3 separate regions of the Homo sapiens genome follow, and all the other regions are linked to region 2. Evidence: promoter capture Hi-C in human tissues and cell types (Jung and others, 2019). All regions are on one chromosome and are shown on one strand. Each heading gives the region's core, a stretch centred on a gene start or on the middle of the fragment in contact. The rest is flanking DNA. Distances are from core to core; before and after follow the strand shown.

Region 1 (2,700 bases), core at 50-2,549, 290 kb after region 2:
CATGTTAACCCTTTTTTTTTTTTTTTTTTTTTTGAGGTGGAGTCTCGCTCTGTTGCTTAGGCTGGAGTGCAGTGGCGCGATCTTGGCTCACTGCAAGCTCCGCCTCCCGGGTTCACGCCATTCTCCTGCCTCAGCCTCCCCAGTAGCTGGGACTACAGGCGCCCACCACTGCGCCCAGCTAATATTTTGTATTTTTAGTAGAGACGGGGTTTCACCGTGGTCTCGATCTCCTGACCTCGTGATCTACCCGCCTCGGCCTCCCAAAGTGCTGGGATTACAGGCGTGAGCCATCGCGCCTGGCCAACTCTTTTAGATATAGATTACATTATGATAACTTCAGTATAAGGAAAGATTTACTTTTTTATTATCCTTTCTCTTGATAACAATTTAATGTGGTAATACAGTTTGGATCACTGTCAAAAGGCAAGCTGCCTTGTGCAGTATTGAATGCTAACCTTTCTCAGCATTTATAATATGGAACGTTATTCTGGTGTCAGTGGGGACATTTCACCAAAAATAGTAGTCAAATATGTGTGGAAAATGCTGCCTGTACAGTCTCCCTCATGAGAGAGTCAGAATTAGTGACTCCAAGAAGCCCGACAGTTAAGGAAACCTCTTTAACATGAAAAACACCGGCTATTTTTCCCATTTATGGGACTGTGGCACCCTGTTTCTGCTGAGTATCTCCCTAAAAATAGAAATAAACCAACAAACCACAAACAGTCTTGGATCTGGGCACAGTGGCGTGTGCTTTTAGTCTCGGCTACTTGTGAGACTGAAGTGGGAGGATCTCTTGAGCACAGGAGGTCAAGGTTGCAGTGCTCTATGATTGTAGTGAAATTTTTACAAATTAGCTGGGCGTGGTGAACTATGATTATAGGAAGTCCTCCTGATAATGATTTGGCTGTGTGTCCTCACCCAAATGTCACCTTGAATTGTAATAATCCCCACGTGTCAAGGTCGGGACTAGGTGGAGATAAATGAATCATGGGGGCAGTTTCCGCCATCATGTTCTTATGATAGTGAGTGAGTTCTCACAGGATATGATGGTTTTATAAGGGGCCTTTCCACCTTTGCTCAGCCCTTCTCTCTCTTACTGTCATATGAGAAGGATGTGTTTGTTTCTCTTTCCACCATAATTGTAAGCTTCCTAAGGCCTCCCCAGCCCTGTGGAATTGTGGATCAATTAAACCTCTGTCCTTTATAAATAACCCAGTCTGAGGCAGTTCTTTATAGCAGCGTGAGAATGGACTAATACACCTCCCTTCTTGAGTCTGGAAGAATATGTGAAGGGAGATTGCTAAGGACTTATTTACAGAATGGTTCTTAAAGTGCTTGGGCAAGAACTATGTATTTGTGGAGGCTGGTAGTGTTTCAGTGAATCTGAAAACCTTTGTGACATGTGAGAAAGGTATGCTGTCTCTGAAAGCTAAGTGTATTATGAAGGATCTATAAAGGCCACACATGGTTTGGAAGATTTCCGTGGCACCCAGAGCAAGACAGCTCCATGTGAGGCACCCTTTTGCTTGAGTGGGGGCTGTGCCTTTGCATCCTGCCAGGTCCAGTGGATGTCTATTTGGTAAGGAGACTGTCTTTGACCTTCTCAGTGGTTTCCTTTCGTTTTGGTGATGGATTTGAAGCTGAGTTAGCTGCCTTCTCCAAACAGCTTTTTCTCTAAATGAGTATTTGTTAAATATTGTCTGTTCTTTAGGGTTACTTAAACTGAAGAATCAGAAGTAGGGTGCTGGGCTGGGCAAGGTGGCTCACACCTGTAATCCCAGCACTTTGAGAGTCTCAGGTGGGAGGATCACTTGAGGCCAGGAGTTTAAGGCTGCAGTGAACTACATGCCATTATATTACAGCCTGGGTGACAGAGCAAGACTGTCTCTTAAAAAACAAAAAACAAAACCAAAAAAACCAGCAGAGTACTGTGATTAGATTCCCAGATGGGGGTTGAGTTTTTTCTTTCCTTTGTTTTGTTTCCTGATTTTTTTTTTTTTTCTTTTGAGACAGGGTATTGCTCTGTCATCCAGGCTGTCAGTGGTATGATCACAGCTCACTGCAGCCTTGACCTCCCAGGCTCAAGTCATCCTCCTGCCTTGGCTTCCCAAAGTGCTGGGATTATAGGCCTAAGCCACTGCACCTGGTCTTTTACTTTCTTGATATAAACTACTACAATAACATCCTTTGTTAGTGATGAAAAACCATTATCCTCACCCACTTGCAGAGATCCTGTGTGCTTAGTTGTATCTTAAAAGCTTAGGATCTGTGGAGAATGTTGTAAAGGATATCTTCAATGGATTACTAGCTTAAAAAAAAACAGAGAGTCTCACTCTGTCGCTCAGACTGGAGGGTAGTGGCGTGATCATAGTTAACCACATCCTCGAACTCCTGGGCTCAATTGCTTCTCCTGCCTCAGCCTCTTGAGTAGCTAGGACTACAGGTGTGCTTACACCTGGCCTATTAACAATTTTTTTGTAGAGATGGGGTCTTGCTATGTTATTCAGGCTGGTCTTGAACTCCTGGCCTCAAGTGATCCTCCTGCCTCCATCTCCCAAAGTCTTGGGGTTATAGGTATGAGCCACTGCATCTGGCCAAATTACTAGTTTTTAAATGGTAGATTTTTTTTTTTGAGACGTAGTCTCAGCCTGTTGCCCAGGCTTGATGCAGTTGTGAGATCTCAACTCACTGCAACCTCTG
Region 2 (2,700 bases), core at 4-2,503:
TTAAAAGTCTGGTTTGGGGCCTGGCGCGGTGGCTCACGCCTGTAATCCCAGCACTTTGGGAGGCTAAGGTGGGCGGATCACTTGAGGTCAGAAGTTTGAGAACAGCCTGGCCAACGTGGTAAAACCCCATCTCCACTAAAAATACAAAAGTTAGCCAGGCATGGTGATGAGTGCCTGTAATCCCAGCTACTTGGGAGGCTAAGACATGAGAATCGCTTGAAACCAGGAGGCAGAGGTTGCAGTAAGCCGAGATGGCACCACTGAACTCCAGCCTGGGCAACAGAGCAAGACTCTGTCTCAAAAAAAAAAAAAAAACAAAAAAAAAAACACCTCTCATTTTGGCAGCCCACAGATCAAAGGGAACTGGGTCCTTATGTCAAGATGTTCTGGGTAAACTGCCTACCATGAAATTTCCAAGAAAGAAGGTCTCGCAAACCCCACAGCACCTTCCGTGAGGTTACCGAGAGTCTTTTCTAAGAACTTTGTTTTCCACTTACACGGACCAACAAAGCAAATGGTTTTACAAATAGAAGCAGTGAGTGTGCTTTTGAACCAGCCAACACTGTGGATGGAAAAAAATTTAAAGCAAAAAGCCTGTAAGTAAATCAGGAGTTTGTGAAGGGGAAAGCTATTTCCTTCTTTTCCTTATTTGAAGTTTAAGTTCAGCTTATTCTCCATACCTTCTGAGACACTGAAAAGGTAACATCTGAAGCCACAATGAGCAGACCCCCAACATATGGCAAGTGGGCTGCCTGGCCATCCTGTGAAATGCCCTAAAGGAGGACTCTTGGCCGGGCGCAATGGCTCATGCCTGTAATCCCAGCACTTTGGGAGATGGGCAGATCACCTAAGGTCAGGAGTTCGAGACCAGCCTGGACAACATGGTGAAACCCTGTCTCTACTAAAAATACAAAAATTAGCCAGGCATGGTGGCAGGCACCTGTAATCCCAGGTACTCGGGAGGCTAAGGCAGCAGAATCACTTGAACCCGGGAGGCGGAGGTTGCAGTGAGCCAACATCACACTACTGTACTCAAGCCTGGGCAACAGAGCAAGACTTTGTCTAAAAAAAAAAAAAAGAAGAAGAAGAAGGGCACTTGTCCTGTTGTAAGGGTGTGAGGGTAACTGGGGGAGCATGCAGAAGCTAGGGGCTCACCTGAGTAGGTCCAGTCAGACACATGCTGGGCCTGGCCACCCAGCAGGAACAGGGACAGCAGAAGCACCAGGGCCCTCATGGTGCTGCACATCTGTAATGAAGACTGATTCCGGCGAAGCTCTTCTTTTAAAGGCTCAGAAACTGTAAATAACAATTTACAATTGATCTGCCCAGCTGGCTAAACCACCCTTTGCTGCACCCACTAAAACAATAACACCCTCCCCATAACAGCACTTCTGGCTCCGTGCATTGCGCCAGGCAGCCCCAGCACCTGCCTGATCTCCTCCCACGTCAATTTCATATCCGGTCAGTCCATGGGTTTGGTTGTTCAGTGTCTTAGGAACACCTGAAGAGCCACACAGTGCAGCCATTGTGGACAGGTGACCGCGGAAATGGGAAAAGGCCCAAGGCAGGGAGAAGCAGGATGAAAGACTTTCCTGGACGTCGGACTTCCCATGCTCTTTCTCCTGACATTAGAGATCTGGGGACTGCTGATGGGATCACCACTGCCTGCAAACCCTGCCCATCTCAGTCATGGACACAAGCCACCGCTGCAGACATGTGGCTGCCCTCAGCCAGGCATCCAGGGAGGTGGCCTGGCCTCCATGTTTGGACATTTCACGGTCCTCTCCTTAAACCAGTGGTTGATCCTGGGTCCCAGCTCATGAGCCACATTCCAATGTGTGCCTTTATGCCATTCAAGCTGGTGTGGGCGTCTGCATTTCTACATGGATTTGTTCTGACACCTGCAGGGCTCTTGGGCACACCTAAGCCAATCAGCCAATTGCCCTCGCAGGATCCATGGATTACCTAATCCTGTGTATTCACTTGGCTAGACAGTCCCTGAAATTAGCTGAAGGAGAAACTTTTGAGTTTATGCCTGCTGACAGGCCAGCATTTCCCATGCCCTTCCACAAGGTCAAACACAAAGGGTAGCCGGAGCTCCTGCGGGGGGGCTACCATGCTGCCGGACACAAAGGGCCACCCCTGCCTTGTTATGGGGAGCTGAACCCCCTCCTGGCCTAGCTTAACTCATTGTCCACTTGGTCCTGGAATGGCAAACGTCAGCAGGCCTTCACAACAAGGATGTTAGCGGTGAACGTAGGCCTCCCGAATACTTCTAAGACTCCCCACTGTCATTTAATAGGGAACATCAGCTGCTGCAAAGAACTTGCTGGAAACTTCCATTTCTAAAGCTCAAGAGCTGAAAGAATCTCAGAGAGAGAGCAAAGCATGTTCAAGGACAAGGATTCTGAAACTAGACAGGATCTGTGCCACCTGCTAACTGTGTGACCATGGGCAACTCAGCGCTCTGTGCCTCAGCTTTCCTTCCTTTTCTTTTTTCTCTTTCTTTCTTCCTTTCTCTCTTTCTTTTCTTTCTCTCTTTCTCTCTTTCTTTCTTTTTTGAGACAGGGTCTCTCTCTGTCACCAGGCTGGAGTGCAATGATACGATTTCAGCTCACTTCTCTTGGACTCAAGCAATCCTCCTGCCTCAGCTTCCCAAGTAGCTGGGACCACAGTCGCATGCCACTACGCCCTGCTAAT
Region 3 (2,700 bases), core at 48-2,547, 310 kb before region 2:
GAAACAGCTGTAAAGAGTCAGCTAGCAGAAGACAGAGCTGAGGCGATTCTCCCAAATGCTGGACACAGAGACAAAAAGATCCATGCTCGGACACATACAGGATGACTCTTGTTCAAAATTAAACAACAGGTTGTTTAGGGAACCAGGCGTGCATGGAAACAGAAAGAGAAGCGAGGGAATAATCTATCCACAATTTGGAAGTGTAAGATGAGGAAATAGGTCAGAACGTGGGGAGGGACACGCAGGAGAATCAAATTCTTTTTTAAAAACGGGTGGTAGGTGCATCCCCGTTTCTTATACCATAGTTCTGTATCTCTTCCATGCATTCTGTAAACTTTAAATTTACCTAGTATCTAGTTAACATTTAATTCCAACAGACAAAAAGCAGCAGATCCTAAGTTCAGGCCTGCTGAGCCCAGCATGCTCCCCTCCCAGCAGCCACTCTGGGTCCATGGCGCCAGTCCTGGGCACCTGCCCTGACCAGGTTGGTGGTGTGCACTCTCGGGCCAACCAGACAGCAAGCATGTCCAGGTCATGGCTGGGGGAACAACCTGCCCTGAATCCAGCCCGATATGCCATTCCCGACAGCAGCACCAGTGTTGGGGGGCAAGAAATGAAGCCGGCAGCCACTCGTAGGAAGGCACTCTGTCCCCGGCCATAACAACCAGGAGCTAGAGGGTGCAGCTCTGTCCAGGGATACTAAACCTTGAAATGAGCAGGAAGTCCAGCCCAACTGTGCCAACCAAAATGCCAAGAGTGGTCTCCACTGGGAAAACAATGGCTGAGATCCCCCAGCTCTGTAGTGTTGTGGCCTTCAAGTTCTTGTGCTATTGTTGAGAAGACATCCAGAAAAAGAGAAACTGATGCCAGCAATGTTTGTGGATCAGTCCATTTATCCTCAGAATAACAACATATAAGGAGGCCCCTCTATTTCCCCTATTTTAAAATATAAGGAACCTGAAGTTCAGAGAGGTTGGATAACTTACCCAAGGTCACACACAGCTGGTAAAGAGGTAAAAATAGCTTCAAACCCAGGCAGTTCGACCCAGAGCCTGCAATTCTTACCACCAAAACATTTCCCTTTTAATTACCCACTCTTCAACCCTACAACAGAACGGTGTGAAGTTGAGTGGCGTGGGCACCACTGGCCTTTAGAAACAGAGCACAATGAAGAAGCCGGCTGAGCTTCTGGAAGGAGGGGTCTAGGGCAAAGCTCAGAGATTCCAATGCCTACCGGGGCCAGCAAAAGCGAAAAGGATGGAGTAAGGCTGGTGTCCCTCAGAGGTACAGTTAAGTACCTCAGGTGCATTCAGGTGGTGCCTCACAGGAGTGTGGGCCCAGGGTGACCAAATCTTCCAATTCTCCTTTTCGGGAGAATGTAAAAAGACAATTCTTCCCTTCCCCTGCAATAATAGAACAGGAAAATCAGGAATATCTTGCATTTGAAAGGGACCTAAGGCCTGGCACAGTGGCTTATGCTTGTAATCCCAGCACTTTGGGAGGCTGAGGTGGGCAGATCTCCTGAGTCCAGGAGTTCAAGACCAGCCTAGGCAACATGGCAAAACCCCATCTCTACAAAAAATACAAAAATTAGCTGGGCATGGTGAAATACACCTGTGGTCCCAGCTACTTGGGAGGCTGAGGTGGGAGGATCACTTAAGCCTAGGAGGTCGAGGCTGCAGTGGGCTATGATTGCACCACTGCACTCCAGCCAGGGCGACAGATAAAGACCCTGTCTCCAAAAATAAAAAATAAAAAATAAATAAATAAATAAGAGTTATTGGCCTCAAACAGTTAAACAGAGTCATGATCCTCCAGCAACCCCACTCCTGGGTTTATACTCAAGAGAAATAAAAATGCAGGTCCACACAAAAGCTTGTACATGAATGCTCATTGCAGCATTATATATAACAGCCAAAAAGTAGAGGCAACCCAAATGTCCACTAACTGGTGACTGGATAAATTATGGTATATCTATACAATAAGATATTATTCAGCAGTAAAAAGAAATGAAGTGCTGGTACATGCTAGAACATGGGTGAACTCTGAACTCAGGATGCTAACTGATGGAAACCACACACCGTATGATCCTATATGTACAAAATATCCAGAACAGGCAACCCCGCAGAGAGAATGCATTTCTGTGGTTGCCAGGAGCTGGGGAGAGGGGGAAATTGTGGGATGACAACGAAGGGGTACAGGGCTTCCTTTGCCGTGATGAACATGTCCTAAAATTGATTGTGGTACTGACACACAACTCTGTGAATACACGAAAGCTCACTGGCCTGTCCACCTTAACTGGGTAAAGTGTAGTAGGATTTGTGAGTTACAGCTCAATAAAACTTTTTAAAAAAGGTTTTAGAACAGGGAAGCAGAAGCACGAAAGAGGTACTTCAGGAAGATGAAGCTGTCTGCGACCTCCAAGATGAACAGGATGGGACTGGTGGTAGTGAAATCAGTGAGGCAGCCTTTGCTGCCATCAAAGGAAGTAACAAAGGTAGGAGGGAACGAAGTCACAGTGAACTGCAAAGAAGTTATTATAGCAGATGAATACAAACTACTTGGTGACTGGCTGGATCCTTGAATGGTGGTACAGAGCTGTGATCTGGAGTGTGGTCTCTGGAGCCAGGCTGCTCCAGTTTATTTTATCTTATTTTATCTTATCTTATTTTGTTTTATTTTATTGGAGATGGAGTCTCC

Evidence for each region. Contacts are between HindIII fragments. The study calls those that stand out against the background at their distance.
Region 1: a contact is called between a fragment that was not itself captured here and the fragment with the promoter of CA6 in region 2, in 1 of the 25 tissues and cell types used here (adrenal gland).
Region 3: a contact is called between a fragment that was not itself captured here and the fragment with the promoter of CA6 in region 2, in 3 of the 25 tissues and cell types used here (IMR-90 fibroblasts, lymphoblastoid cells and mesenchymal stem cells).

Annotation. Positions count from the first base shown.
Region 1 is chr1:8,651,028-8,653,727 of GRCh38, reverse strand. The region is part of intron 2 of RERE (arginine-glutamic acid dipeptide repeats); the gene reads left to right. Among named protein-coding and RNA genes, the nearest start is that of SNORD128, 160 kb to the right of the region's middle. RefSeq lists an enhancer at 1,606-1,685. The HindIII fragment of the contact is 5,625 bases long and covers 1-2,700 here.
Region 2 is chr1:8,944,421-8,947,120 of GRCh38, reverse strand. It overlaps CA6 (carbonic anhydrase 6), which reads right to left and starts at 1,253. Exons shown (of 8, transcript NM_001215.4): 1 at 1,156-1,253. The coding sequence starts at 1,234. The HindIII fragment of the contact is 10,958 bases long and covers 1-2,700 here.
Region 3 is chr1:9,254,339-9,257,038 of GRCh38, reverse strand. The region is part of intron 3 of H6PD (hexose-6-phosphate dehydrogenase/glucose 1-dehydrogenase); the gene reads right to left. Among named protein-coding and RNA genes, the nearest start is that of H6PD, 21 kb to the right of the region's middle. The HindIII fragment of the contact is 5,872 bases long and covers 1-2,700 here.